7 separate regions of the Homo sapiens genome follow, and regions 1, 2, 3, 4, 5 and 7 are each linked to region 6. The links are contacts of gene promoters, found by promoter capture Hi-C in blood cells and fetal thymus (Javierre and others, 2016). All regions are on one chromosome and are shown on one strand. The core of a region is centred on a gene start or on the middle of the fragment in contact, and the rest is flanking DNA. Distances in the headings are between cores, read along the strand shown.

Region 1 (4,024 bases), core at 1,358-3,857, 330 kb after region 6:
TGTTTCTGTAATACAAAATTGTTTATGGAAACATAAAAAAGAAACATAAGATTTCTACCTTTAGACTTAGAAATCATGAGAGGAATTACACATGAAGAATCCATTTCCAATTGACCTGCAAGTCCTACTCATTTTTACTTCCTGAAGAACTCATTCATCTTTTTCCCATCTCCAACATTATTACTTTGGTCGAAACTATGATCTAAGCTTGCTGAGACTGTTACATTAGCTTCCCACCTGGATCAGCTGCCTGATATTTTTTATCCTTCACCACCAGCCCCTCAGTCTGTCACCCTAGCCTCATCTCACACACCCTCTCCATTCCAGTCACACTGGACTTTTTTTTCTCTCTTGTACTTGCCATATACTTCCTTCTACCACCAGGCCTCTATGTGTGTGGTCTCCCTTCCCTGGAATGCTCTGCCTATCCCTTTTTGCAACTCATTTTTCAGATTGTAGCTCCATTCCCCCAGGGAAGCTTTTCTTAACCTCTCATCACAAGCTCTTACAGTGTGTAGCACTTACCATTCTTTTAATATGGTATGATTATTTGGTTAATGTCAAACTGCTCCTATTCCTACCAGCCTGCGTCATGAGGGCAAAGACCACATTTGTTTTGCTCATTCTTGTATTCCTAAGCCTAGCATAGTACCTGGGGTCTACAAGTTGCCCCCAAATATTTACTGAATAAAGGTGTTAGAATGCTTTTAAAGAAAGATTCTCATTAAGGCAAATTAATAAAAAGTTACTTTCCTTCTCCATCATTAATGCATAGATGTATATATTGCTATTTCATGGTGGTGGTAATGGAATTTGCACTACTCTACCTGCCTGCTCAAGCCCATGTGACACACACAGTCTTAAATATGATAGCTGAAATCCTGGCTCCCTAGAAAGCCTTTTTTTTCTTTCTTTCTTTTTGGTCTGGCTCCTTAGAAAGCCTTTTTTTTCTTTCTTTTTTTTGGGTAGGGGGGAGACAGGGTCTTGCTCTACTGCTCAGGCTGGAGTACAGTGGTGCGATCACAGCTTGCTGCAACCTTGAACTCCTGGGCTTAAGCAATCTTCCTGCCTAGGCCTCTGGAGTAACTGGAACTACAGGTGTGCACCACCATGCCCCCGGCTAATTTTTAAAATTTTTTGTCGAGGCAAGGTCTTGCTATGTTGCCCAGGATGGTCTGGAACTCCTGCTCTTAAGCAAATCTCCCTCCTTGGCCTCCCAAAATGCTAGGATTACAGGTGTGAGCCACTATACCCGGCCAAAAACAGTCTAACCACAATCTAAATGAAGCTAGCTGGTTTTAGAGACTATAAACCCATGAACCAAGCTTCATTAGAAATATGTTCTAATCAAGTAAGCTAATAGATCATAATTACTTTTCATATAAAAATTTTCTTTAATATGATTGTCACTAAAAATGACACGTTTCTCTCTTGCAGTGCAATTTTGCTGTAAAATATATTCCTAGCCTTGGGGGGGAAAAAAAGCTCTTCCTAGGCTGGCTGTCTTCTGGAGACATATATATATATTTTTTTTTTGGCAAAAACTCAGTGAGTTAGCAAACACGTACACTGAATACAGCAGAAGGACAGTAAAACAGTCCTCCAAAATATAATAAGGTACCACACACACCTTCGACCTACTTCCTGAGACTTTGTAAGTTACAGTGGTGTTTCTTTGGCTGAAGTAGCTGCTACTACCCTTGACCTCTTTTCTTACCTGGTTCTTTACCAGAACGCTTTCCAAAAACATGTCACCCAACAAACAGATGCTGTCAATAAACATCACTGTTCTCCTAGCCTCAACTAACAGTATTGAGGTTAGAGGAATTATGACTGGGGTTGGGGAGTTTGCAAAATACATTCAGAGGTTACTCAAGCCTCCCCACACAAGAAGCAGGCCATGGATTTACAAATAAAAAATTAGCCAACAGATTTCAGACTGATACCATAGTGCATGAGTTGGGAGGAGACTCAATGTGGTTTAACAGAAAAAGACTGCTAGACTGCCAGGTATCAATCAGGCAGTGAGGGATCTAGTCCCAGCTCTTTCCCTAATTGTAATAACTGAGGCAAGTTACCTAATTTCTGTTTTCCATCTGTAAAACAGAGGGCATGAACTAGATCAATGTTTCTGAACCAGTAGTGTTTTTGTCCCCTAGAGGACATTTGACAATGCCTGGAGACATTTTTGGTTGTCAACTCAGGGGGAGGGTATTATGTTTTTCAGTCTGGGTAACATAACGAGACCCTGTCTCTACAAAAAATTTTAAAAAGTAATTAGCTGGGTATAGTGGTGCTTGCCTGTAGTCCTAGCTACATAGGAGGCTGAGGTGGGAGGATCGCTTGAGCCCAGAAGTTCGAGGCTGCAGTGAGCTATCACTGCACCACTTCACTCTTGCCTGAGGAACAGAGTGAGAATTGGGCTCTAAAAAAAAGTCATGTTTTTTATTTTCTGAGTTTTATGATGCTTTGACATCTTGGGGCCTTGCTAATCCTGGAGAGACCACTCCTTCCAGGGCTGGCTAGAGAGCGCACTATCCCCACCAACCTCCCCCGGAGCACACCTTTCATACGCAAACCAACCAATTCTCCTAACCACCTCTTTTTTATCTAACGCTCACTTACCAAGCCAGTATTTCCCCTCCCCCTAAATCACCCAGAACCAGATACTGGACAACTAGAGACTAGTTACATAGCCCTGAGCCTGTTCAAATTATTCAAACCATCTAGTCCTAAACTTGTTCAAACTTGCCTATCCTGACTCACCCATTCATTCCCATTGAACCACAATAAAGGCTCTGGACCATGCTTGTTCCTTGATCCTTTTGCCTCCTGACCAATCTAGGTGCTTCCCCCTGTGCCTCTGTGTGGCATGCTGTGCCTCCTACTCTTGGAACTGTAAGTAATAAACTCTTCTTTCAAGGCAGTAGTTTCAGTGTGTGTCATCCATTACCAAACCTGATTAAAACAACATCCTAGGAACATTTTAAAACAGGAGGAGTGTGCTACTGGTCAGGGATGTTGTTAAACATCCCTCCAAGGCACAGAACGGCCCCCCTACAACAAATTATCCAACCTCAAAAGTAAATACTGTCAAGATTGAGGAACCTGGCCTAGGGACTAGATAAAGTCTTATGCTTTTTCCAGTTTTTTTTTTTTTTTTTTTGAGATAAGTCTTGCTCTGTCACCCAAGCTGGAGTACAGTGGTGCAATTTCGGCTCACTGCAACTTCCACCTCTCTGGCTCAAGCAATTCTCATACCTCCACTTCCCAAGTAGCCTGGGGCTACATGCGTGCACCACCATGCCCAGCTAATTTTTGTATATTTAGTAGAGACGGGGTTCACTATGTTGGCCAGGCTGGTCTCGAACTCCTGGCCTCAAGTGATCCACCCGCCTCGGCCTCCCAAAGTGCTGCGATTATAGGCGTGAGCACCCAGCCACTTTTTCCAGTTCTAAAACATTTGATTCAAATAGGTCTAATAGATTGAACTGCCTACAGAAGATACTGTTGTGATGTGATAAAAACAGCATCATTATCCTGAGTAATCCCCCTCCAATCAGATGTACTGGGAACTTTTCCTTATAATAGTAATTATGGTTAAGGGATTTGATCTATGGTATAGATACATCATCCAGTAACAACAACGTTATAAAATGAACTCCATCTCAGTCCTTAGAGGATACTTAAAATCAACGTCTTGGCATAAAGAAATGTGGTAAAGAAAAGAAGCCTAGCAAACAACCATTACCTTCACGACCTTCAGGCTCTTCCTTCACTGCCCGTCCTCCAACATATCAGGGAATAACAATTCAAGGGTCATGGGTGTCTATCTTAGCCTTGTGTAATTTATAAGACAAACAACATCCACCTTGCAAGTTAAAGCTTACATACATATATTCATGTCTGCTCCACAGTGGACTGCTGTATTGCCAAGAAGTTACTTAGATCTATTCTACCAATGTCTGGAAATGTAATCAATTCGGTCAGCCTCTTTCAGAAAGGGAACAATTAGATTTAGGGT
Region 2 (3,702 bases), core at 946-3,445, 510 kb before region 6:
CCACTTCAGCAGATTTGGCCAAGTTTATTTATTTGTTTAGTGAGTAACAACATACAAATACTAAAATGAAGACAGTACAGTAATCTTCAGTGTGTAGCTTGAATTTTTACTTATGTATACATCTGTATAACCACACTCTAGATAAAATTATACAACATTTTCTGTACCGCATGCAATTCTCTTGTGTACTTTTCAGTCTGTGCCTTGAAAGGTTAATCACTATTCTGACTTCTATAAACATCTTTTAGTTGTGCTTGTTCTTAAACTTTGTATAAATGAGTCACATACTAGAATTTGTTTGTGTCTGACTTCTTTCAGTCAACATAGTATCTCTATGTGATTTCTCCAACTTGTTGGAGCTGATTATTTTTTAATGTGCAATATTCCATTATGTAAATCTATTACAATTTATTTGAGCATTTGGATTGTTTCATCTTTTGGATATTATGAACAAAGCTGCTATGAATATAATGTACAAATGAGAGAACATAGCACTAATTTCTTTTAAGTATAAAGAATGGAATTGCTGGATCATAAAGCAGATGCAGGTTATCTCTAGCAGAAACTCAGTGGTTTTTCAAAACAATTGTATCATTGTGCATGTTCCCCCAGCCACAAATAAGAATTCTACATCCTTGGAACAGGCGTGGTGGCTCATGCCTGTAATCCCAGCACTTTGGGAGGCCGAGGCGGGCAGATCATGAGGTCAGGAGATCAAGACCATCCTGGCTCACACAGTGAAGCCCCATCTCTACTAAAAATAGAAAAGAAAATTAGCCAGGCATGGTGGCACGCGCCTGTAGTCCCAGCTACTCGGGAGGCTGAGGCAGGAGAATCACTTGAATCCGGGAGGTGGAGGTTGCAGTAAGCCGAGACCTTGCCACAGCACTTCAGCCTGGGTGACACAGCCAGACTCTGTCTCACAAAAAAAAAAAAAAAAAAAAAAAAAAAAAAAAAAATTCTACATCCCTGAAAATACTTAGGATTGTCAGTCTTTTAAATTGGAGCCTTTCTGGGGTGGTAGTAGTGGTTTCTTGTGATTTTTAATTTGTGTTCCCCTGACGAGTCATATAAAGCCCCCGTGAGCTTTATTTCATAATTTTGACCACTTGGATATCTATCTTTTCAAGTTTCTGTTCAAGTCTTTGCCCAATTTTTTATTGGGCTGGTTGTCTTTTTCTTAATAACTTGAAGAAATCTTTTTTTTTTAATGGTAGTTCCAAATTGTTTGTTAGATATATGTATTGCAAGTATCTTCTAGTCTGGTTTGCAAACATTTATTTATGAGCAAATGTAACATTATGTTCTTAACCTAAAGGTTATAAGAAAACTGGGGAAAAAATTCTAAGGTAAATTTTGTCATATTCTTACGCATTAAAGAAGTGAGTCATGTTTCAGATAAATTATTTTTAAAAGTATTTAGTTCATTTCAACTAGCCATTTATGAAGCATCTGTTCACATCTTCTAAGGATTCCAAGATATGTAAGATAGGTTCTTCCATGAGGTGTTACTGTGGAGAAAGAGAGGCAAGCGGGCAACCAAGACTGCTGTAAGATGTGAAAAGCAGTGTATAACATGCTACAGAAGCAAGGATGAGGGAGAAACTCATTTGGCCTGAGAAGGCAGTATTGGAAGAAGGGAAGTCTTTGAAGATGAAGCAAGAGTTTCCATGGTTGTGCAGGCTTTGCAGGAAAAGGGAACATAAGAAACAAATGCCCAGAGGAATGAAAGGGCCATAAGCCGAGGAGCAGCAGGGGTCTGTGGTGGTCAGAACATAGGATAGGAGAAAGAAGGAATGACTTGTAATAAAGCAGAAAAAGTTAGCCAAGTGAAGATGGGAGAACCTTGTCAGCATTGTTAGAACTTCAGATTTTTATCCTGTATGCTAGCCAGACACCTCAGGATTTTCAAATTATGGAAGTAATAAGATCAGGTCTGAATAGATTAAATATGATTAGAACATGGGTTTTTAATCTTTTCTGGCCTTGAACCCCTTTGGCTATCTGATAAAGCCCATGAATCCCCCAGAATATAATTTATATTAGGTTAAATATTATATATTTAATCTTTATATAAATTAAAATACATAGGAATTAAAAGGAATCCAATAATGTTGAAATACAAAATAGTTCTTAATTGTGATATTTGCTCCATTATTAGCACATTTAAAAAAATCTAGTGGTAGGTCTAATATAATTTCAAAGTGGTAATGCATATAAATGATACCTTGAGACATGTGTCAACTTTAATTATGCTATGAAAATATCTAATTTCTGTTGGTGACAGTCACTGGTACTGCAGCTTGTTGCTTATGTTTATAAGCATAAAGGAAATGCTAAATTTCAGTTAGATGTAAATGAAAATCAAAGCAAACTTTTCCAGAATTCACTAGGTCACAGACCCAGTGAATTCTATGCGTATATCCCAAGCTAGGACCCTCTGTAATGAGAAGGGTACCCCAGCTGATAGGATAGACTGGAAGAAGGGGTAAGTGAAAGGCAGGGAGGCCAATTAGGAGGCTGTTTCAATGATCCAGATAAGCCTGAATGGAGGCTGTTGTGGTTGGGTAGAGGGCAGTGGCTGGTATTTGGAAATAGAATCCAGGTGTGTATATTGCAGGGTGTGTAGGGGAATGGGTGGGGAAGTGGGAGAGAGGAATGGCTAGAGGAGTTCACTGAGGTTTCTAGCTTCGGTAAGACAGAGGATGGCAGACCAAGCCACACTAGCTCTTACCTGGGTTGCAGGAATAGCCTACCATTAGTTAGTTTCCATGTGTCTCCCCTTGCCCCACTATCACCTAATTTCAACAGAGCAGTCAGAGTGAACGTTTTAAACATAAATAAGACCACGTAATGTCTCTGCTCAAAGCCCTGCAATGACCAGTCCTTATGATAGTCCCTAAAACCCCATGTAATCTAGGCCTCTATCCCCTCTCCAGCCTCATTTTCTACTGTCTCCCGACCCACATTCATTGAGTTGCAGCTGCAACTGCTCTTCACAAGCATATAAGGGAATGCTCCTGCCTTGAGCCTTTGTGCTGACTGTCCCTTGGCCTGGAACAGTCTTCCTCTAGGTAGCCACATGCTAACTCCCTTAACTCCTTCATGTCTTTGTTCTCAAACCTCTTCAAGTCTTTTCTCCCTTAACCTCCTTCCAATGACGCCTACCCTGACAACCTTATCTGGAAATGCCTCTCCCCAAATCCCACTTATTCTGCTCAATTTTTTCCTACCTCTTATATCTCATACCATTTATTCATTTATTGTCCCTGTCAGTCCACATGGCAAATATGAGTCCCTGCACACTCATAGGTGCACGAGGACAAGATTCTTTTTGTTCACTGTTCCAAACGTCGACAACAGTGACTGGTGCAAAGTAGATGCTCAATAGATATTGTAAGAATGAATAGGGAGGATCTTAATCACAAAGGAAGAAAAGGCGGGAGAGAAGTAGAAGCTCTCAAGGAAGAAAGAGAATGTTGTTGATTTAATATTGATTTGGAAGGATCTGTGAGTCATCCTGTAGATGTAGACAGCTGGGTAGCCTGCAGGGCAGGAAAGGATGGTTTATGCTAGAAATGTAGATTTGGAAGCTGATTGGCACAAGGGAGACAGATAAAGCGCAGACTTGTTCAGAGAGTACTTTAGCCTGAGCAATTTGGTGGCAAAACTAATGTTTAAAAAGTAGTCAGGGCCAGGCAT
Region 3 (3,655 bases), core at 992-3,491, 450 kb before region 6:
TTTAGTGGAATACAGAGGGTGGGGCATCTTGTGGTGGCCCTGGGAGAGAATGAGTTTGGCAGGTGTGATGGGAGCATAAAAGGGAGTGATGGAAGGTGAGGTTAAAAAAGGTAGATAGGGGCTGTGTGTGGAGGCTCACACCAGTAATCCCAGCAGTTTGGGAGGCCAAGGCGGGAAGATGATTTGAGCCCAGTAGTTTGTGGTTATGGTGAGCTATGATCAAACTAAACTGTAGCCTGGGTGACAGAGTGAGACTTTGTCTCAAAAAAATAAATAGGATCTTTTTTTCACCCATCTCTCATTACTCCCCTTTATGCATCCAGCGTTCTGGCCTGTCTGGGAATGGTGAGGAGTCAGATATGGGAGATTGCTGAAATAGCAGTCAGACTTTAACATTGATGGCTTATTGGAAATAAGTGAGAGAGAGGAGGCGTAAGTGATTCTAAGATTTCAAGTCACAAAAAGCAAAACAGCTACAGTTGGAACAAGTTTTGTACTCTGGCCAACACCCTCATGATTATTTTTAGTTTGTGGCAGGCTAGATGTAAGAGTTAGTCTGTGCTTGTGGCCAAACTGATACTAACAATAAATGGGATTCTAGTATTTTGTAATTTCAAAATTTGGCTTAAGTAGAATTAGATAATTGGAATTGGAAGGGGCCATCTAGTTTCACATACCTTCATTTTACATGTGAGTTTGCTGAGGCTCACAGAGTTTGACTTTTCCCAAGGTCTCAGGGCTAGTTTATTACAAAAATGAAATTACAATCCAGGTCTTCTGGCTTCTAGTGCAGCAATTTTCATACTTTTTGCAAGTTGCTTAGCATTATTTTCATTTGATTTTTGTTTTATTGAGAGATCTGTGAATTTCAGGATATATTATAGCTATAAATGCTGATCTTTAAGATCTGCTATTTAGCTATCAAAATCTAGGGGAAAGATCCAACTTAAATACAGAATTTAAACAGATTGGCAAATTTATCTTCTAAAGAGAGGATTTCATAATAACACAAAATAAATAATTGCTTGATCATAATAGTTGTGCTTAGTTGACTACAGTTCTCATTGTGTGAGAATCAGCTGAACTAAAACCAGTTTAGTTTAGAATATTTAGAAATATTCTATACTTGGCTGCCTGAAGTTAATGATAATGACCACAGAGTCATCCAATAAAACATTAATTAAAATGTTACTTTAGCATTAAATCCCACTACTTGATTGTTATCTTTATCAAAGGATACTGCCTTTGGCAGAGTTACTATTTCAAAGAGGAAACAGAGCAATATGAAACTACTTTGTGGGGAAAAAATCAGAAAATGTGTTGTTTCTGTTCTTACCAACCTTATAGCAAGGTGATATATTTACAACTGCCATTTACAATTATAATTTTCCATCTCAAATAATTGATCTTCCTATATTTGCACAGAGAGTAATGAATGAATCCGCTCATACAGTTACAAGGGTGGCATTGCCTGCCTCCTTCAACTGGCTGAATGACTGAAGGAACTGGTGGATATTCTTTCTTGATGTGATTACATCATCTCATTTTCTTTTTGGCAAGCTATCATTCTCATACACTTCTGGTCCATCACCCCCTTTTTTAGAATTGACAGTTTTCTGCTTTCGTGGAACATGGTCTACCCTCCCCATCATTGCTCCTTCAGATGATAAGCTTCTCTTGGGCTGATCAAGATGGGAGCAGTGGAAAGGAAGAGAAAGACCCCATAGCACTGTAGGGGGGCTCTTGGTTACTATTCACACAGAGAGTGAAGTCAACTTTCAGCTCAGTGCCTTTTGGCAGCCTTTCTCGTAAAATATCCAGTGTTAATTCATACCATTTTTTACAATACAGGTTTACTTTAACCAGTGTTTATTAAACATACATTTTGATGGAAGTATTTTTACTTTGATTAACGTACAAACCGATTGACTAGAAATATGTAAGCATAAGTTACGAATGCAGTTCTTATAAACGCCTGTACCTGTAGCTGTTTTATTTTTTCTTCAGATAAGAGGTTTGTGGTAAATGGTTTCATTCTCCAAGACTGCATGTCTTTTCAAAAGACGCTTAAAAGAACTGCAATAAACGTGGGAGTACAGGTATCTCTTCGACATACTGATTTCATTTCCTTTGAATATATATTCAATAATGGGATGCTGGATCATATGGTAGTCCTTTTTTTAATTTTTTGATGAACCTTCATAGTGTTTTCCATAATAGATATACTATTTGATCATTATATAATGTATAAATACATTGAAACATCACACTGTTACCCCATAAGTATGTATAATTATGTCAGTTATAAATAAAAATTTAAAAGAAGCTGAAAATCATTCAAATAGTTTGCTCACTTTGTTTTCAGATCTAGTAGTATATATTGCATTTAAATCAATCTGATAAAACTGATAATTTTAGGATAATCATATTTAGTTTATTTTAAATGTACGTAGTCTACATTTTAAATCTCTGATATAAGATTGCTGCCTTTTTTTTTTTTTTTTTTTTTTTTTTTGAGACTTGAGTCTTGCTCTGTTGCTCAGGCTGGAGTTCAGTGGCAAGATCTCAACTCACTGCAACCTCTGCCTCCCAAGTTCAACCGATTGTCATGCTTCAGCCTCCCAAGTAGCTGGGGTTACATTACAGGTGCCCACCACCACACCCAGCTCATTTTTGTATTTTTAGTAGAGTCGGGTTTTCACCATGTTGGCCAGGCTGTTCTTGAACTCCTAACCTCAGCCTACCAAAGTGCTGGGATTACAGGTGTGAGCCACCTCACCTGGCCCACACTATAGTTTAATTGGAAGCTTTTTTGTTAGTAAAAGATAAAAGAGTAATATGTCTTAAAATTGACACTTTAGATTTGATTAGTTAACAGTAGTAATTGTACATGAATGACTATTACATGTACAATGGGCCTATTCTTGGAAGTACAGTGTGATGGTTAATATGTGGGCTTTGCGCAAGTATCTTAACTTTTACTGTATTCTTAGTATTTTATGAAGATTAAATAGGAAAAAATATTCATCGGCCAGGCACGGTGGCTCACACCTGTAATCCTAGCACTTTGGGAAGCTGAGGCCGGCGGATCACGAGATCAGGAGTTCAAGACCAGCCTGGCCAACATGGTGAAACCCCGTCTCTACTAAAAATACCAAAAAAAAAAAAATTAGCTGGGTATGGTGGCGGGTGCCTGTAATCCTAGCTACTTGGGAGGCTGAGGCAGGAGAACCACTTGAACCCAGAAGTTGGAGGTTGCAGTGAGCCGATATTGTGCCATTGCACTCCAGCCTGGGCCACAAGACCAAGACTTTGTCTAAAAAAAATAAATATTCACCACAGAATCTGGCATATAGTGAGAGCCTAAGAAGTATTAGCTATTATTATAGCATTATAACAGTGTTAAAACTGCATGATTGATCCACAAGCACAAACCAGAAAGCAGTTACCAGCAGTCTTCAATGTAAATGAAATAATTCAACTGTTTTTTCAGCTATTTTCTATAGATAAGACCTTTTATAAACAGAAACCTGACTGGCACTAAATTGCTATTTCCCAGACTGTTGTATTTATAGAATGCTAAAAGCCGTCATTATACAATATATTTTACTACTCACTAGATACTCTTATTCTGGCATATCTGTAAAATATAGAA
Region 4 (3,831 bases), core at 359-2,858, 370 kb after region 6:
GCTGAGATTACAGGCCCCCCACCCCACCACACCCAGCTAATTTTTGTATTTTTTTAGTAGAGACGGGGTTTCGCCATGTTGACTAGGCTGGTCTTGAACTCCTGACCTCAGGTGATCTGCCCACTTTGGTCTCCCAAAGTGCTGGGATTACACGCGTGAGCTACCACTCCCAGCCCAGAATGATCTTTTAAAAACAAATCAGATCATATCACCATCTTGCTCCAAACCGTTCATGGCTTCCATCACATTTAGAATAAAATCCATAATTAACACCTCTACAAATCTGTATATGATTGTTTTGTTTCCTACCACATATTCTCTCTGATACTGCTCTAGTCATACTGGCCTCCCTGAGGTTTCTTAATCCTGCCAAGTTTCTCCCCATCTCAGAGTCTTTATGCTGTGCAGGAGAATGATTTTCCTCCCAGATGCTTCTAGCTCATGCCCTCATTTTAATGAAGGTTCTGCTCACATGTTACCTCTGAAAGTCTTCCTCTTACCACCTTACCCTGCCATTCTCTCCTTTCTTTACTTGTCGTCATAGCACTTTTACCACATAGCTTCATATTGCTTGTTTCCTTAGTGGAAGCTCAACAAGCTTTGCTTTGTTTACTCCTCCATCCCTAGCATCTACAATACTGCCTGCACACAGAAAGTATTCAATAAATATTTGTAAATAAATGAATGTTGGGTTCTTCCCTCTCTCTCCTACTCTCCTCTTGGGACACAGACCCAGAAGGTTCACCTGTAAATGCCAGCCAGTGACCTGATTTGGATGTAAACACCAGCTGCAAGAGGGTTGACTACACAGGAGAATAAGATCCTGTGAAAGTCCTGAAATAGAGACAGAGCTCTCTTTTAAAAAGGCTATAATTTAGGGTTGCCACTATTCCCTTAGAGTTGGAAACATAATTCTTGGAGGAAAACAAACAGGAAAAACATGGAAATTAGATTTACATAAATAAGTGAAAAGGTAAGTCCACTAAATACCTGTGGTAGATTGAAATATTGTTCCCACATATTTGCTCTCCTTTAGAGGAATAGACAGGCTTGCCCACTACTATGTGACTTCCAGTGCTGCCCCGCAGGCATTCCAGGCTTGGCTATGATCCCATGATGGGATTTTCCTCCTCTCTTCGGTTAAATGTCATATTGTAATCACAAAGTTTAGAAACATGAATCTTGCTTTGGTCAATAAAATATAAGTGGAAGGGACAATCCGACAGTTCTGGGTGGAAGCTTTAAGAGTCACTGCCTTTCTCTACTAGTGTGCCTGCTCTTTCCCTCCACCAAGAGAGACAAGTTCTGAATAGAGGCTGGTCCTTCTGCCTGGGTTCTAGAATAAGAAATTACATGGATCAGAGCCTCAGCCACTAGCTGACATAATATATAATGTGAGCGAAGGGGAAACTGAGGTTTAGGTTCGTTTGTTACTATAGACTTACTTAGCAAAAGCTGACTACTATAGTGCCTAATCAAAGAAACATGATGATCTGAACTAGAAGTGGTATGGCACCCCCAACCGTCTGCATTTAACCCACTTCAAGTAATGGAAAACTGTTGAAGTTCAACAGGCTAACACACTACAGAGAACAAATCTGAGGCCTTCAGGTAAAATATTTGAACAAGGGACAGAGTATGGTTCCCATTAGTGTTCAGGGTTTGGTTAGAGTGAAAGTGATTGATAAAATGACACTTCAACTCTACTTTATGTGTTAATATTACAAGCTCTAATTAGTGTTATCTCTAAACTTCCAGCCAGAATAACTCAGAAAGCATGTCACACTGAATCATCGTATGCTAATTAATAACAGCAGCACTTTTCTTGTTATCAAAGAGTTCCTTTAGGAAATAGTTACTTTGGTATATGTAAGCATATTTTGTGTGTATGTAAAAACGTGTATTTATAGGAGAGCTGAGAAAAACTAAAGACAAAAATTTGAAATGAAAAGGGAAGGATTTCATTATGGAAGCTTGGAGGTAGGAATCCTATGGAAGCAGTGGGAGGTAGCAATCACAGAAGACAAACATCATGGCTGGGTACATACCGGTTTTTTTTTTTTTTTTTTTTTTGAGATGGAGTCTCTCTCTGTCACCCAGGCTGGAGTGCAGTGGCGTGATCTTGGCTCACTGCAAGCTCCACCTCCCGGGTTCACACCATTCTCCTGCCTCAGCCTCCCAAGTAGCTGGGATTCCAGGTGTGCACAACCATGCCTGGCTAATTTTTGTATTTTTAGTAGAGACGGGGTTTCACCATGTTGGCCAGGCTGGTCTCAAACTCGTGACCTCAGGTGATCTGCCTTCCTTGACCTCCCAAAGTGCTGGGATTACAGGCATGAGCCACCACGCCTGTGTGCATACAGTTTTACAGGAAAGATTCAAGCACACTTTTTGGCCTCAAGTGCCCCTTTTTCTATAACCCATCTCTGCCTGTTAGAAGCCTCCTCATGTTTCATTGTCCATCTCAAATGTCTGTTCCCCACTCAACCTTCACTAATGCCATCAGCTGGAATTAATTTTGCCTTTCCCATATTTTCATACCCCATTATGCCTCCATTAGAAGTGCACTGAATACACATTTCAGCCAAATGCCAAAAGGGCCAAAAAATAAGTCACTCTTCAGCTGAAGCCAAAGTTGATGACAAACATCACTATTAAAGAATAAACTTCTGGGATATGCACATAAACCTAAAATATTATCCCCAAATTTTAATACTATTTTAATAATATTAAAAATGTTAGTGCTAAAACTGTTCAGTTTAACATTTACTATAGAAGCAATAAATTCCCAGTGCTGTCCATTGTTAGACTCTCCTACAGTCACTGCAGAAAGCCAAATTTCAGCTCAGGTGAGTGAATGAATATGATCCCTGTCATAAATGGAATTAAATAAGAATTAAATTCAGGTCTTTAAATGATAAATGCTAGATGCCCCAAACCCTTCTACCAAGACCAGAGTTGTGATATGATTTAACTTCTGCTTACTTTTCCTTGTCTTTATTTATTTTTATTTATTATTATTATTTGTTTTTGAGACAGAGTCTCACTCTGTCGCCCAGGCTGGAGTGCAATGGCACGATCTTGGCTCACTGCAACCTCCACCTCCTGGGTTCAAGCGATTCTCCTGCCTCAGCCTCCTGAGTAGCTGGGACTACAGACGTGCACCACCACACCTGACTTATTTTTGTATTTTTAGTAGAGACAGGGTTTTGCCATGTTGGCCAGGCTGATCTTAAACTCCTGACCTCAAGTGATCCTCCAACCTCGGCCTCCCAAAGTGCTGGGATTACAGGTGTGAGCCACCGCGCCTGGCCTCCTTGTATTATTTGAATTTTTTATAAACATTTATTGGCTTGAAAACAATGTATTGTTTTTTCTAGGTTATCTAGCCAATGGATTCCTTCTTGATATTTGTAGTGATTGTCAGCTTATTTTCCTATTTGCTTAAAAGTCTTAAATAATTGTTTCTTTTTGTCTTTTACTAAATTCTTATTGATACATTATAATTGTACATATGCATGGGAGTACATGTGATATTTTGCTACATGATACAATGTGTAATAATCAAACCAGGGTAATTGGTCATCATCTCAAACATTGATTATTTCTTTGTGTTGAGAACATTTCAAATCTTCCAGCTATTTTGAAATATGCAATACATTATTGACAACTACAGTCACCCTACTGTGCTGTTGAACCACTAAAACTTATTCCAAGTGTATTTTTGTACCCATTAACTAAACTGTCTTCATTTTTATCCTCCTTAAGTTTTTAATTTGTTTGTTTGTTTGTTTGTTTTTAGATGAAATCTCGCTCTGTTGCCCAGGCTGG
Region 5 (3,650 bases), core at 1-2,500, 340 kb before region 6:
AGGCAGGGATTAAACAAACAAAAACAGCAACAACAACAACGACAACAATAAAGAATGAAGATTATTCAACCAGAAACGACAATGAGGGTGGGGAGAAGATAGAGGATGAAGACAGCGCAGGGTTGGGAGTAGAAAGACCACATTCTTGTGCTGGATGTTCAAGGATCACCGTGAGGAGAGTGAGGGCGGCTTTGCCCTTTTGATGTTGAGTTAAACTGTAATACAGATTTTCCATGTAAGTACTCCGTCATTTTCAGGTGGCAACCGGATAAACTTCAGGTGCCACCATGGAGCCGACAATCACCAGCAGCGAACAGGACGGGAAGAAGGCTGGGACAGAAGGGTAGTTGCATCTCCGCAAACGCACAGGTCTAGGAAAGAGGCACCTGGGCTGTCCCCGGGCTATCTCGTTTCAAAGTCACTTAAGTTTCTGTAGCTTAGAAGCGGCCCTTGCCCTCTGGTATCGGGAGACGACTTTGCTGCAGACATCGAGGTGCTCGGAATGACCTTGGTGATCAACCTTAACCTGAAATTCCCGGTCCTGCATTGCCCATCTCCCGGGTCACTGCTGCTGACAAGGCTCTTCTACAGTCCTGGGTTATTCTACAGTCTTTCAAGAGGGCTTCCCCTAAATCCTCTCCCTAGGAATGCTTGGAAGGACGGGAGGAGCAGCCTGGAGGCTCCCATCGTTTATTCGGACACAGTAACAGCCCGTGCCATGGCTGCGCTACCGCGGGAGCTAGGCTCCGCAGCAGAGGGCCCCGGGCTCGCTTCGGGGTGGGGGCGCCCGGGGTGTGCCGCGCCCTCGGGGCTCACGTCCCGGGCGGGTTTCCGGGCCTCGGCAGGGCGCGAGGCGGCGGCGGGGCCGGCTGGCAGGCTGATGATGATGATGCTCTGTGCTCGTAGCCGATGGGAGGCAGCGTGAGCCCGAGAGAGCCCAGAGCAGCCGCGGTGGCAGCGCTGGAGCGCAGCCTCCTCCCGCTCCCATAATGCACAGGGCGGCGGCGGTGGCGGCGGCGGCAGCGGAGGCAGCATCGCGGGCCGCCGAAGTGGCTGCGGCGGCGGCGGCGACCCCTAGGACCCCGGGCAGGTGGAGCGCTCGCGGCTGCTCGCGGCGAGCCCGGGAGTGATGGCGAGGCCCCTGCGGGCGGCCAGCGCCTGAGGCGCCCCGCCCCGCCCCGCCCCGCGCGGCCCTCCCCGCCCGGCCCTGCCCTGCCCTGCTCCCTGCCGGCGGCTGCGGGCGCTTCCTAGTCCGCTCGGGCGGCCGCCCAGGCGAGGTGCGGCCTCCGCACAGGCGGGGGGCGTAGGCGCGCGGGGCCCGCCATGGCTGCGTCGGAGCTCTACACAAAGGTAAGGCACCCCGCGGCCGGCGTCGAGGACTGGGGCTGTGCGGCCCTCGCCGCCAGCTGTCAGGCTGGGGAGGGGGCGGGAGCGCCGGGCCCAGGCGAGCCCCACCAGCGCCATCCCCTTCAGCGCCTCAGAACCCTCGGCCCTACCAGCCGGTCGCCCGCTGCGGCACCTTCCTCTTTCGGGCGAGATGGTGAAGGCGGCGGAAGGTGGCCCGCCTCGGGGGTCTCCCAGGCCCCTGCCGCGCTGCTCGAGCTGGGGGCAGAGCGGGCTTCGGAGTGGAAAGGGGGCCCATGTGGATTTAGCAGGGCGGGCGTGCCTCCCCTCCTGCTTGGCTTTGGAAAATTCCCGGCGGGTGGGAGATGCTTGCTCCAGTAGATCGGATGGGTTCTCTCGTGGGGACACGCGCTTAAAATAACGTCTTGTGTTGGTATGCAGTGCCGCTTCTACCGCCAGCTAGCCTTTCTGTGAGGTTATTTTGAATCCTGCAAACGGTGGCCGTATCACCTTTAGCTCCCCAGTTTAGCTGCGCTGGGGGTGGCGAGCCCCGGGGAAAGATGCTGCCGGATGAACGCGAGCTGATTCACCGGCTGGGAGGGTCGGTACTCATTTATCGCTGGGAGTTTGCAACCTGCGTGTAATCCCGCAGAGCCTTGTTAGGCTCCATGTCTTTACCATCCTCTGGGGCAAGCCTTTCCCTTCTGGGTTTGGTTTAAGGGAAGTGGCAGTCTTTTCTTAGACTGACATCAATATACTCAGGGTCTGGCGATCTCTGAATGACATATTATGGAGAACTGTCACTTGAGTGCTGCGCAGATTTGTGATGACCTTTGTGAATATATGTAATCATGGCATTTTATACTGTACACTCATGTGTAGGTAGATATTTTGCCAGATATTGATTACTTCTACATGCAGTTAATAGAGTTGCCTTTTCACATTAGCTTTTGCAACAGAACTTTCATTTAGGGTCCTGTAATCACTGGAATCATTGTTTCCAAATGTCACTGAAGTCCAGGGCCCAAGTTGCAGTGTGTTTTGTAGAGGAAAGAAGACTGGGCATCAAGAGACCTGGATTCAAGCCGGGACTTACTAACTGTGACCTTGGACAAGTCACTTAACATCTCTGGTTCGATTTCCTAATGAGTAAATGCAGTTAATTATACTTGCCTTGCATCCCTTACAAGCTGTTGTGAGAATCAAACTTAATAATCGTTGTGAAAGCTTTTTGTAACCTATGAATTTCTCTGCAAATATGAGATATATGATTAATTTCTTCAACCATGAAATGAGCTTGCATGAAACATTGTCTGAGACCTCTTTCTTTCTAGTTTTAGATTTAACGACTGTACAGTTGGAACTTCTCTCTCAACCTGGTAATTTCTTTAGGCATTGTAGATCTCTAACATATGAACGAATGCAATTGGAAACTGATTAAAAGTAACTTAAACACTTAATATGGTGCTTGCTATGTGCCAGGTACTGTTTTAAGCGTTTTAAAAATATGAACTCATAATCCTCATAAGGAACTTATGAGGTCGATATTAAGAAATATCAAAATCATTTTCACATGAAGAGATAATCAGTCTGTAAACATTCCTTGGTTACTTTGTGTAGCCCATCCCCTCCACTTCTACATCAAGTTTGTCCAACCCGCAGCCCATGGGCCGCATGTGGGCCCAGGACGGCTTTGAATGTGCCCCAACACAAATTCATAAACTTTCTTAAAACATGGGTTGTTGTGTTTTTTTTGCAATTTTTTTTTTAGCTCATCATTTATCATTAGTGTATTTTATGTGTGGCCAAAGAAAATTCTTCTTCCAGTGTGGCCCAGGGAAGCCAAAAGATTGGACACCCTCCGTTCTATATGGTGAGCAGTCATCTTTGAGTCACCTAATAGTAGGCTGCTTAACTAGAGACTGAGTGGATAATAAATTGTTGTTGGATTTCGAATGCTTTTTTCCCCCAGGATAATTTGGGAGAAAAAATTGAAAAGATGTTGTGATTTGTAAATGGTAAAGTTTTGGGCTTCTGTCACAGCTTTATCACAATCTATTTTAAAATTTACCTTTTAACAGCCTGAGGAACATAATGAGACCTGGTCTCTACAAAAAAATTAAAAAGTTAGGCTGGGCACGGTAGCTCACGCCTGTAATCCCAACACGTTGCCGAGGTGGGTGAATCACCTGAGGTCAGGAGTTCGAGACCATCTTGACCAACATGGCAAAACCCCGTCTCTACTAAAAATAGAAAATTAGCTGGGCGTGGTGGCGCATGCCTGTAATCCCAGCTACTCAGGAGGC
Region 6 (3,743 bases), core at 889-3,388:
TGTGAAACCTGAGTACATTTACAAAGCTGCAAGTGGATTCTAGTGCTGAGTCTTCCAGGAAAAAATCCCGTTTGGCCACCGTGACCTGCCAAAAGTTCTCTTGCCCCATGCCTGCTGGGGACAGAAGGTTTTCATGAACTCTTTTTACTGAAAATGCCCTGCATTTAAAAATGTTTATTTTAGACCCTTCTAAATTTTTTTTTTTTTTTTTTTTTGAGACTCCGGAGTCTCGCTCTATCGCCAGGCTGGAGTGTAGTGGCATGATCTCGGCTTATTGCAACCTCCGCTTCCTGGGTTCAAACAATTCTCCTGCCTCAGCCTCCTGAGTAGCTGGGACTACAGGCACCTGCCACCACGCCCAGCTAATTTTTGTATTTTTAGTGGAGACAGGTTTCACCATGTTGGCCAGGATGGCCTCGATCTCTTGACCTCGTGATCCGCCCACCTCAGCCTCCCAAAGTGCTAGGATTACAGGCGTGTGCCACCGCGCCCGGCTGACCCTTTTAATTTTTAAGAGTGTTCAATCCGAGATGAATCATTTGAAGTATTTTTATATGTATATCTATTTAAAACTAATATATTATTAAAGCTTAATTGCCATGCCGTTTATCTTCTCTGAAAGAACTTCAAATCTTACCTGCCAACATATTCACCATAATTTTTTTATTTTTTAATACCTTTCATACAATAACTTTTTTAAAACAACCTCAGATTGAAAAAGCAACCTAAATTACTTTCGCTCTCTAATCAGCATTTCAATGTATTTATTTTTAAATTTTCTCAAAAAGTAACTAAAAAATTGTGTCGGACCCTACTTTTGAGAAATCTACGTTTCCCAAGTTTTATGGGAACTGGCTATTCCTTGTCCCGGCACACCTTCTCATTCCTTCCTTTCAGAGCCTAAAACCTCATTTGATAAGCACTCCTAGTCTCTGGCCTGTGGATCCAGTGCTATTCTGTCACCAACCTAAGAATCCCAATTGCACCTTCTGTTTCTGACAGTCACAGGTGACAGCTGTGATTCTATAATACAGACTGGTGTCTTAGAGGTAGGAATAATACATGATTATGAAGCATCACCCTGCTAATACATAATAATGTCTTTTTATATTATAAGTGATTGAGTTTAGTTCATTTCAATACATTGTACATGAAAAAATGAAAAGTAGAACTTTGTAATACTTTAATCAATAAAATTAATTACCAAATGAATTGGGTCAGATTCTTTCATTGCGAGGAGATGACATGTCTCTTAAGTGTACAAGTTGTATGCCTTTCTTTACGGTCATACTGAAAGATGCTAGAATCTTTATAGATTCATAATATCTCATTTAAAGTATATTAAAATGTTTAGAGAAGAAGTAAATATGTCATAAGTGCTGGCTTAGGCTGTGTCTCCAGGGCGCTTCCACACTGTCAGAATGAGGGGCTACTTGGCAGAGAATTGGCAGGGTTTCTGATCCTGAGCTGCGGCCTCCATGCCCTTTCTAGACCTTCCCCACACCATGAGGAGCCATCACTGTTGGTTTTCGGCTTCCATAACTCAGGATTTATGCCTGTTTTATAGCACTTACCCTGGACTGGAAGCCAGAAATGCTGCCCATTTCCTCTGTAGGCCTGTGAGCCCCAGAGGGCAGGTGCCACATCCTCCTCATCCCTGCCTTCATCCTACTGCTGATGAGGTGGGAAGAGAACTGAAGGAGCAAAGTCCCGTTGGAGGACTGTGTGTGTGTGGTGGGGAGTCAACCATGGGAAAAAGTAGGTCATGTTTGGGGACAGGGAGACCTGTGGAGGCTGAGGAGTTTATGTGTGGAAAAATGGGGAAAGGGAGGCACTCATCCCACAGTCTTGATCAGTTCTACAAAGCTGACAGTGGCAAGGAGACCAAAATAGAGAAATGTTAAGAACATGTGGCCCAGGTGAATGTGAGGGCTGCTCAGTGAGTGGGCGCAGACACAGAGGTCAAACCTGCCAAGGCCTCCCTCCACAGAGGGGCTGGGCAGGTTCCAGGGGTGAGTGAGGGATGCAGATGGCAGTGCGTGCCCAGCAGGGAGCATGGAAGTGCTGTGGAGGAAGGAAGCAAGCTGAGCAGCACTCCAGAGAAGATAAGGAGATTAGCCAGTGGGAGACGTGCTTCACACCTCAAGCTGCGCGCTGGTCCTCACCTCTCACCATCTGCTCTGTGGCTCCCAGTGCTGACTCTGGAAGGTATGTGCATGCTGACATTCGGTTAAAATACTCCAGCTTTTGAAATGCTCAGAAAAGCATCCAGATGAGTACAGGGCACAGTGTTAGCAGGTCTTTCTGTGCGGTGGGAGCATGGGTGAGGGGTTTTGTTGTTGTTAATCCGTAGAATCTAATTTTTCTACAATACACATGAATTTATTTTGAAATAGTAAATTTCAAATATTTCAAATTGAAATATTTCAATATTTTTTACATTAATATTGGCATCAGGAAAGAGATTAAGCATACTTAAAATCACTAAGTCAGTTTTAAAATTTGATCCAGGTGACACATGGCAACATAAGCCTCTGAGTACAGCTTATGGGGTTAGAAAGAGGTTTTTAGTTGTAAGTCTGAGATACATCCACATTGTGTGTATCAGTTATTTTTTATTCTATGCTCATTTCACAGTTTCGTCTGTGACTGGTGAACATTTGGGTCTTTCAAGTTTAGGCCTTCTATGAATAGCTGCTATGACATTTATGTTTTTTTTTTTTTTTTTTTTTTTTTTTTTTTTTTTTTTTTAAGGAAATAAGCATTATTTTCTGTGGTGTATGTATGCACGAGTAGAATTGCCTGGTCATAGACTATATCCGTTTCACTTTAGTAGCTCCTACCAACCAGTTTTCTACAGTGGTTATACCGACTTATACTCCCACTAGCAGAGAAAGGCAGTTCCAGTCTCTGCATCCTTGCCCACACTTTGTGTTGTCAGGCTTTTTAGGTTTTCTGATGGCTAAGTAGTTGTATCACATCGTAGTTTTACTTTGTATTTCTATGATGACTAATGATAATGAGCACCTTTTTATATGTTTATTGACCATATAAGTATCCTCATTTGTGAAGTGACTACACAAGCCTTTTGTCCATTTTAAAAATAATCTTTGGGCTGGGCGCGGTGGCTCATGCCTGTAATCCCAGCACTTTGGGAGGCTGAGGCGGGCAGATCATGAGGTCAGGAGATTGAGAGCATCCTGGTTAACACGGTGAAACCCCATCTCTACTAAAAATACAAGAAATTAGCCGGGTGAGGTGGCGGGCGCCTGTATTCCCAGATATTTGGGAGGCTGAGGCAGGAGAATGGCATGAACCTGGGAGGCGGAGCTTACAGTGAGCCGAGATTGCGCCACTGCACTCCAACCTGGGCGACAGAGCAAGACTCTGTCTAAAAAAAAAAAAAAAAAAATTTATTGAGATATGATGTCCACGTTTTGTTTCATGTTTTAAAACCCATCATTTTAAAACATATATTTCAGTGTTTTTTAAGTTTATTTACAAGGATTTGCAACCATTGCCACTGACTCCAGAGTATTTTCATCACCCCGAAAAAGAAATCCCATACCCCTTAAGCAGCCACTCACTCTCAGCTCCCTCCTTCCCCCTTATTCTCTCTTCCCTCCACCTCGCAACTACTCATCTGCTTCATGTCTCTATGGATTTGCTGATCCTGTACACTTCATATAAATAAATCATACAATATGTGGCCTTTTGTGTCTGGCTTCTGTCATAGGATAGCG
Region 7 (3,525 bases), core at 115-2,614, 420 kb before region 6:
GGACAAACCAACATCTCTGAATCCTAACTCCAGTGTCCTGGGAAATAGACTGACCCAGGATGGGTCAGGTCCCCACTTTGAATCAATTGGCTTTGTTGGGGTTGGGGAACAGGGTCACACTTTTATATATACATGTAAATAAAGACAGGGTCTCCCTATATTGCCCAGGCTGGTCTTGAACTCCTGGGCTCAATGGATTCTCTTGCCTCAGCCTCCCAAAATGCTAGGATTACAGGCATGAACCACCACTTCCAACCAGGGGTCACACAACTTAAAGAAGGCTGCCGGTGTTCACTCTTGGCAATGGCCACTGTTAAAATCTTGCTCTATGTGATCTTCCTAAAGTTCTTTCAGACAACTGGGTAGATGTTACTTTCATTTAACAGAAGAAAACATTCAGTGACTTGTCTCAAGCAACACGTCACTACCGTAGAACCCTTCCTCACCACTGTCTTCACCACATACCCCTTAGAACCTTTCATCACCACTGTCTTCCACCACATACCCCTACTCAACTACTGGCCACCTGTCTGTGCTCTTATAACATAGACTGCTAACGTCTGTACGAGTGGTTATCACAGTACGTTATAATATGTATTTGGTTGTTGTGTCTACTACTCTGAGAATGTTTAAAGTGTATGATCCATGTATTTTTTAACCTGGGGATGTATGATAAACTGGATGAATTGACTGGGAATAGTACTAGAGTCCAGGTTCTGGAGCTAAACTGTCCAGCTTCAAAATTCAACTTTGCTACTTCCTAGCTGGATGATCTTGGGCAAATTACTTAACCTCTCCATGCTTCATTTATCTGAAAAATAGAAGTAATAGTCCTCACCTTCTAGAGCTGTTCTGAGGATTAAATCAGTTGACGTGTAGAAGGTACTTAGAACTGACAGTGATAAGTTACCAAATGTCAGCTGTCATTTTATATGTTCCAAATGGTCACTTTAGAGAAACTTTTCTGAATGGTCTTAAAATACCAGTTTAATAAAGTTTACTCCCAAGGCTTCTTCCTTTCCTGATAAGCCTTCCTGAAGCTGGAAAAGAGCATTCTTCATCATACCCTTCAAAGCTATTCATAAGCTGGCTCCAGTCTTTCTTTTTGCATACTTTTCTCTACATGAGATCTCTGCTCAAATTGCACCTTCTCTCTTCCCATTCCATGCTGCATGGTTCTGTTTGTTTTTAAAATTCTTTGAATTGTAAAGGTTTCAAAACTAGGAACTATGTGCATACGACTCTGTGTCCTCCTATTACCTGAGGTATAATAGGCACTTGAAATATTTGTTGCTTGATTGGCCGAGATAAGAGCAACTTTTTGTACAACAAATTGTACAACAAATTGAATAGTGTGTGCACTTTTGTGTATGAATGTTCAACTTGTATAGCAAGTTAACAGTTTTTAAAATTAGCTGTTAAAAAACTAAGAGCACTCATGAGAAATATTTAAATTACCATAACTACGTGAAAAAAATCCACAGATTAGATTGTTTGAAACTGTAATAACCAGAATACCACACTCCACATATTGCAAATCAGGCTTTGTGCCGCTGCTGGATAATAGCATTTCTTCCTTAGAAATTGTTATTACTATATAGTAAAAGCACAGAGGACCCCATGACTATGAATTTTCATGTCACGGAATTAGTGCTGTGAGACTAAGGAACTAGTAAAGGGAGGGGGAGAGAAAGAGAAACATGCAGTTGGATCTGTATCTTTTTCTAATATGTAAATAATAGCAATAGAACATCTTAGCTAAAAATATGACATAAGACATTTTAACCTTTTAGCTATTAGTGATGATTTGTGTGCAAAAACTATTGTACCTGACATCCAAAAATATTAATTTTTTTTTTTTGAGACAAAGTCTTGCTCTGTCGCCCAGGCTGGAGTGCAATGGGGTGATCTTGGCTCACCGCAACCTCCATCTCCCGTGTTCAAGAGATTCTCCTGCCTCAGCCTCCTGAGTAGCTGAGATTACAGACATGCGCCACCACACCCAGCTGATTTTTGTATTTTTAGTAGAGACTGGGTTTCACCATGTTGGTAAGGCTTGTCTCAAATTCCCGACCTCAGGTGATCTGCCCACCTCGGCCTCCCAAAGTGCTGGGATTACAGGCATGAGCCACCACGCCCGGCCCGAAAATATAATTATTATAGGCTATAAAGTTAACAATAGATATCTCTGAATAATGAGTTGTTTTTGTCTTACTCTCTGAATTTTATAAATTTCTCAGAAAATGTGTCACTTTTTAATTAGAAAAGTAAGCTACCACACCTGACCCAAAAATGTAATTATAGGCCAGGCTCAGTGGCTCATGCCTGTAATCCCAGCACATTGGGAGGCCGAGGCGGGTGGATCACCGGAGGTCAGGAGTTCGAGACCAGCCTGACCAACATGGCAAAACCCCTTCTCTACTAAAAATACAAAAAATAGCCATGCGTGGTGGCACATGCCTGTAATCCCAGCTACTTGGGAGGCTGAGGCAGGAGAATCGCTTGAACCCAGGAGGCGGAGGTTGCAGTGAGCCGAGATTGCGCCATTGCACTCCAGCCTGGACAAAAAGAATGAAACTCTGTTTCAAAAATAATAGTAATTATTATTATTAATTATATTACAATTATAATTAATATACCAGTTCAACTAGAATTTGGAATTATCCATCATCTCCTCACTTCTGTAGTTTGTGAATCAAAAGTTTAGTATATTTTGATTCTCATTTTTATTATTTTCACTCTATGTTAAATGAATAATGTGTAATGTGACATTAGTTATTTTAGGCAGACCAGATGAGTTCTTACTAAGAGTACATTAAATTGAGGACCCTTTGCCCCTTTTTTATATCAGATACTCTGGATGAATATTTTGAATATGATGCAGAGGAGTTCTTGGTCTCTTTGGCCTTGCTGATAACAGAAGGACGAACACCTGAATGTTCTGTAAAAGGTCGAACAGAAAGCTTTCATTGCCCTCCAGCACAGTCTTGTTACCCAGTAACTACCAAACATGAATGTAGTGACAAGCTGGCCCAGGTGAGAATCTTGTGTTGAATGCTTTGTATCTTTTATATAAACTAGTTTATGTTCATCATCACCTTTATTTTATTACAGTTATAATTGTCATATTTCAATGTAAAATTGATCATAATCATAAAGGGAAAAAATCCAAATCCTGGACCATAGCTAATAACCTTGGCTCTCAAATGAGGCTCTTGAAGGCATTGCAGGTAACTCTGCTGATCAGTGGGGAAGTGGGCACCCAATTTCATACCTGCTGTCTCATAAGCTAGATTTAAGACTATCTCTGCTGTTGGATTTTACTTTATTTATTTATATATTTGAGACGGAGTCTCGCTCTGTTGCCCAGGCTGGAGTGCAGTGGCGCGATCTTGGCTCACTGCAACCTCCACCTCCCGGGTTCAAGCAATTCTTCTGTCTCAGCCTCCTGAGTAGCTAGGACTACAGGTGCGTGCCACCACACCAGGCTAATTTTTGTATTTTTAGTAGAGGCGGTGTTTTGTC

What was found. Contacts are between HindIII fragments. The CHiCAGO score rates a contact against its expected background, and 5 or more counts as called.
Region 1: a fragment that was not itself captured here is called in contact with the fragment with the promoter of GNB5 in region 6 in 5 of 17 cell types (naive CD8 T cells, total B cells, total CD8 T cells and 2 more); the score reaches 6.9 in naive CD8 T cells.
Region 2: a fragment that was not itself captured here is called in contact with the fragment with the promoter of GNB5 in region 6 in 2 of 17 cell types (total B cells and naive CD4 T cells); the score reaches 7.6 in total B cells.
Region 3: a contact is called between a fragment that was not itself captured here and the fragment with the promoter of GNB5 in region 6, in 4 of 17 cell types (naive B cells, naive CD8 T cells, total CD4 T cells and 1 more). The highest score is 9.9, in naive B cells.
Region 4: a contact is called between a fragment that was not itself captured here and the fragment with the promoter of GNB5 in region 6, in 1 of 17 cell types (naive CD8 T cells). The highest score is 7.0, in naive CD8 T cells.
Region 5: a contact is called between the fragment with the promoter of MYO5A here and the fragment with the promoter of GNB5 in region 6, in 2 of 17 cell types (non-activated CD4 T cells and naive CD8 T cells). The highest score is 5.3, in non-activated CD4 T cells.
Region 7: a fragment that was not itself captured here is called in contact with the fragment with the promoter of GNB5 in region 6 in 2 of 17 cell types (total B cells and naive B cells); the score reaches 5.8 in total B cells.

What each region holds. Positions count from the first base shown.
Region 1 is chr15:51,863,407-51,867,430 of GRCh38, reverse strand. All of the region lies in intron 2 of TMOD3 (tropomodulin 3), which reads right to left. Among named protein-coding and RNA genes, the nearest start is that of TMOD3, 36 kb to the right of the region's middle. The HindIII fragment of the contact is 2,560 bases long and covers 1,328-3,887 here.
Region 2 is chr15:52,695,215-52,698,916 of GRCh38, reverse strand. It overlaps a transcript of ATOSA not described here. Among named protein-coding and RNA genes, the nearest start is that of ATOSA, 18 kb to the right of the region's middle. The HindIII fragment of the contact is 7,421 bases long and covers 1-3,702 here.
Region 3 is chr15:52,639,432-52,643,086 of GRCh38, reverse strand. All of the region lies in intron 2 of ATOSA (atos homolog A), which reads left to right. Among named protein-coding and RNA genes, the nearest start is that of ATOSA, 38 kb to the left of the region's middle. The HindIII fragment of the contact is 1,136 bases long and covers 1,674-2,809 here.
Region 4 is chr15:51,823,155-51,826,985 of GRCh38, reverse strand. No RefSeq gene overlaps it. Among named protein-coding and RNA genes, the nearest start is that of TMOD3, 4.6 kb to the left of the region's middle. The HindIII fragment of the contact is 734 bases long and covers 1,242-1,975 here.
Region 5 is chr15:52,526,480-52,530,129 of GRCh38, reverse strand. It overlaps MYO5A (myosin VA), which reads left to right and starts at 1,250. Exons shown (of 42, transcript NM_001382347.1): 1 at 1,250-1,350. The coding sequence starts at 1,324. RefSeq lists a silencer at 721-1,600. The HindIII fragment of the contact is 12,943 bases long and covers 1-2,573 here.
Region 6 is chr15:52,189,787-52,193,529 of GRCh38, reverse strand. It overlaps GNB5 (G protein subunit beta 5), which reads left to right and starts at 2,138. Exons shown (of 13, transcript NM_016194.4): 1 at 2,138-2,208. MYO5C (myosin VC) reads left to right here. Exons shown (of 41, transcript NM_018728.4): 41 at 1-1,208. All of the region lies in intron 2 of CERNA1 (competing endogenous lncRNA 1 for miR-4707-5p and miR-4767), which reads right to left. RefSeq lists an enhancer at 1,541-2,040. The HindIII fragment of the contact is 7,593 bases long and covers 592-3,743 here.
Region 7 is chr15:52,613,184-52,616,708 of GRCh38, reverse strand. ATOSA (atos homolog A) reads left to right here. Exons shown (of 13, transcript NM_001385016.1): 3 at 2,852-3,036. Among named protein-coding and RNA genes, the nearest start is that of ARPP19, 46 kb to the right of the region's middle. The HindIII fragment of the contact is 3,203 bases long and covers 1-2,965 here.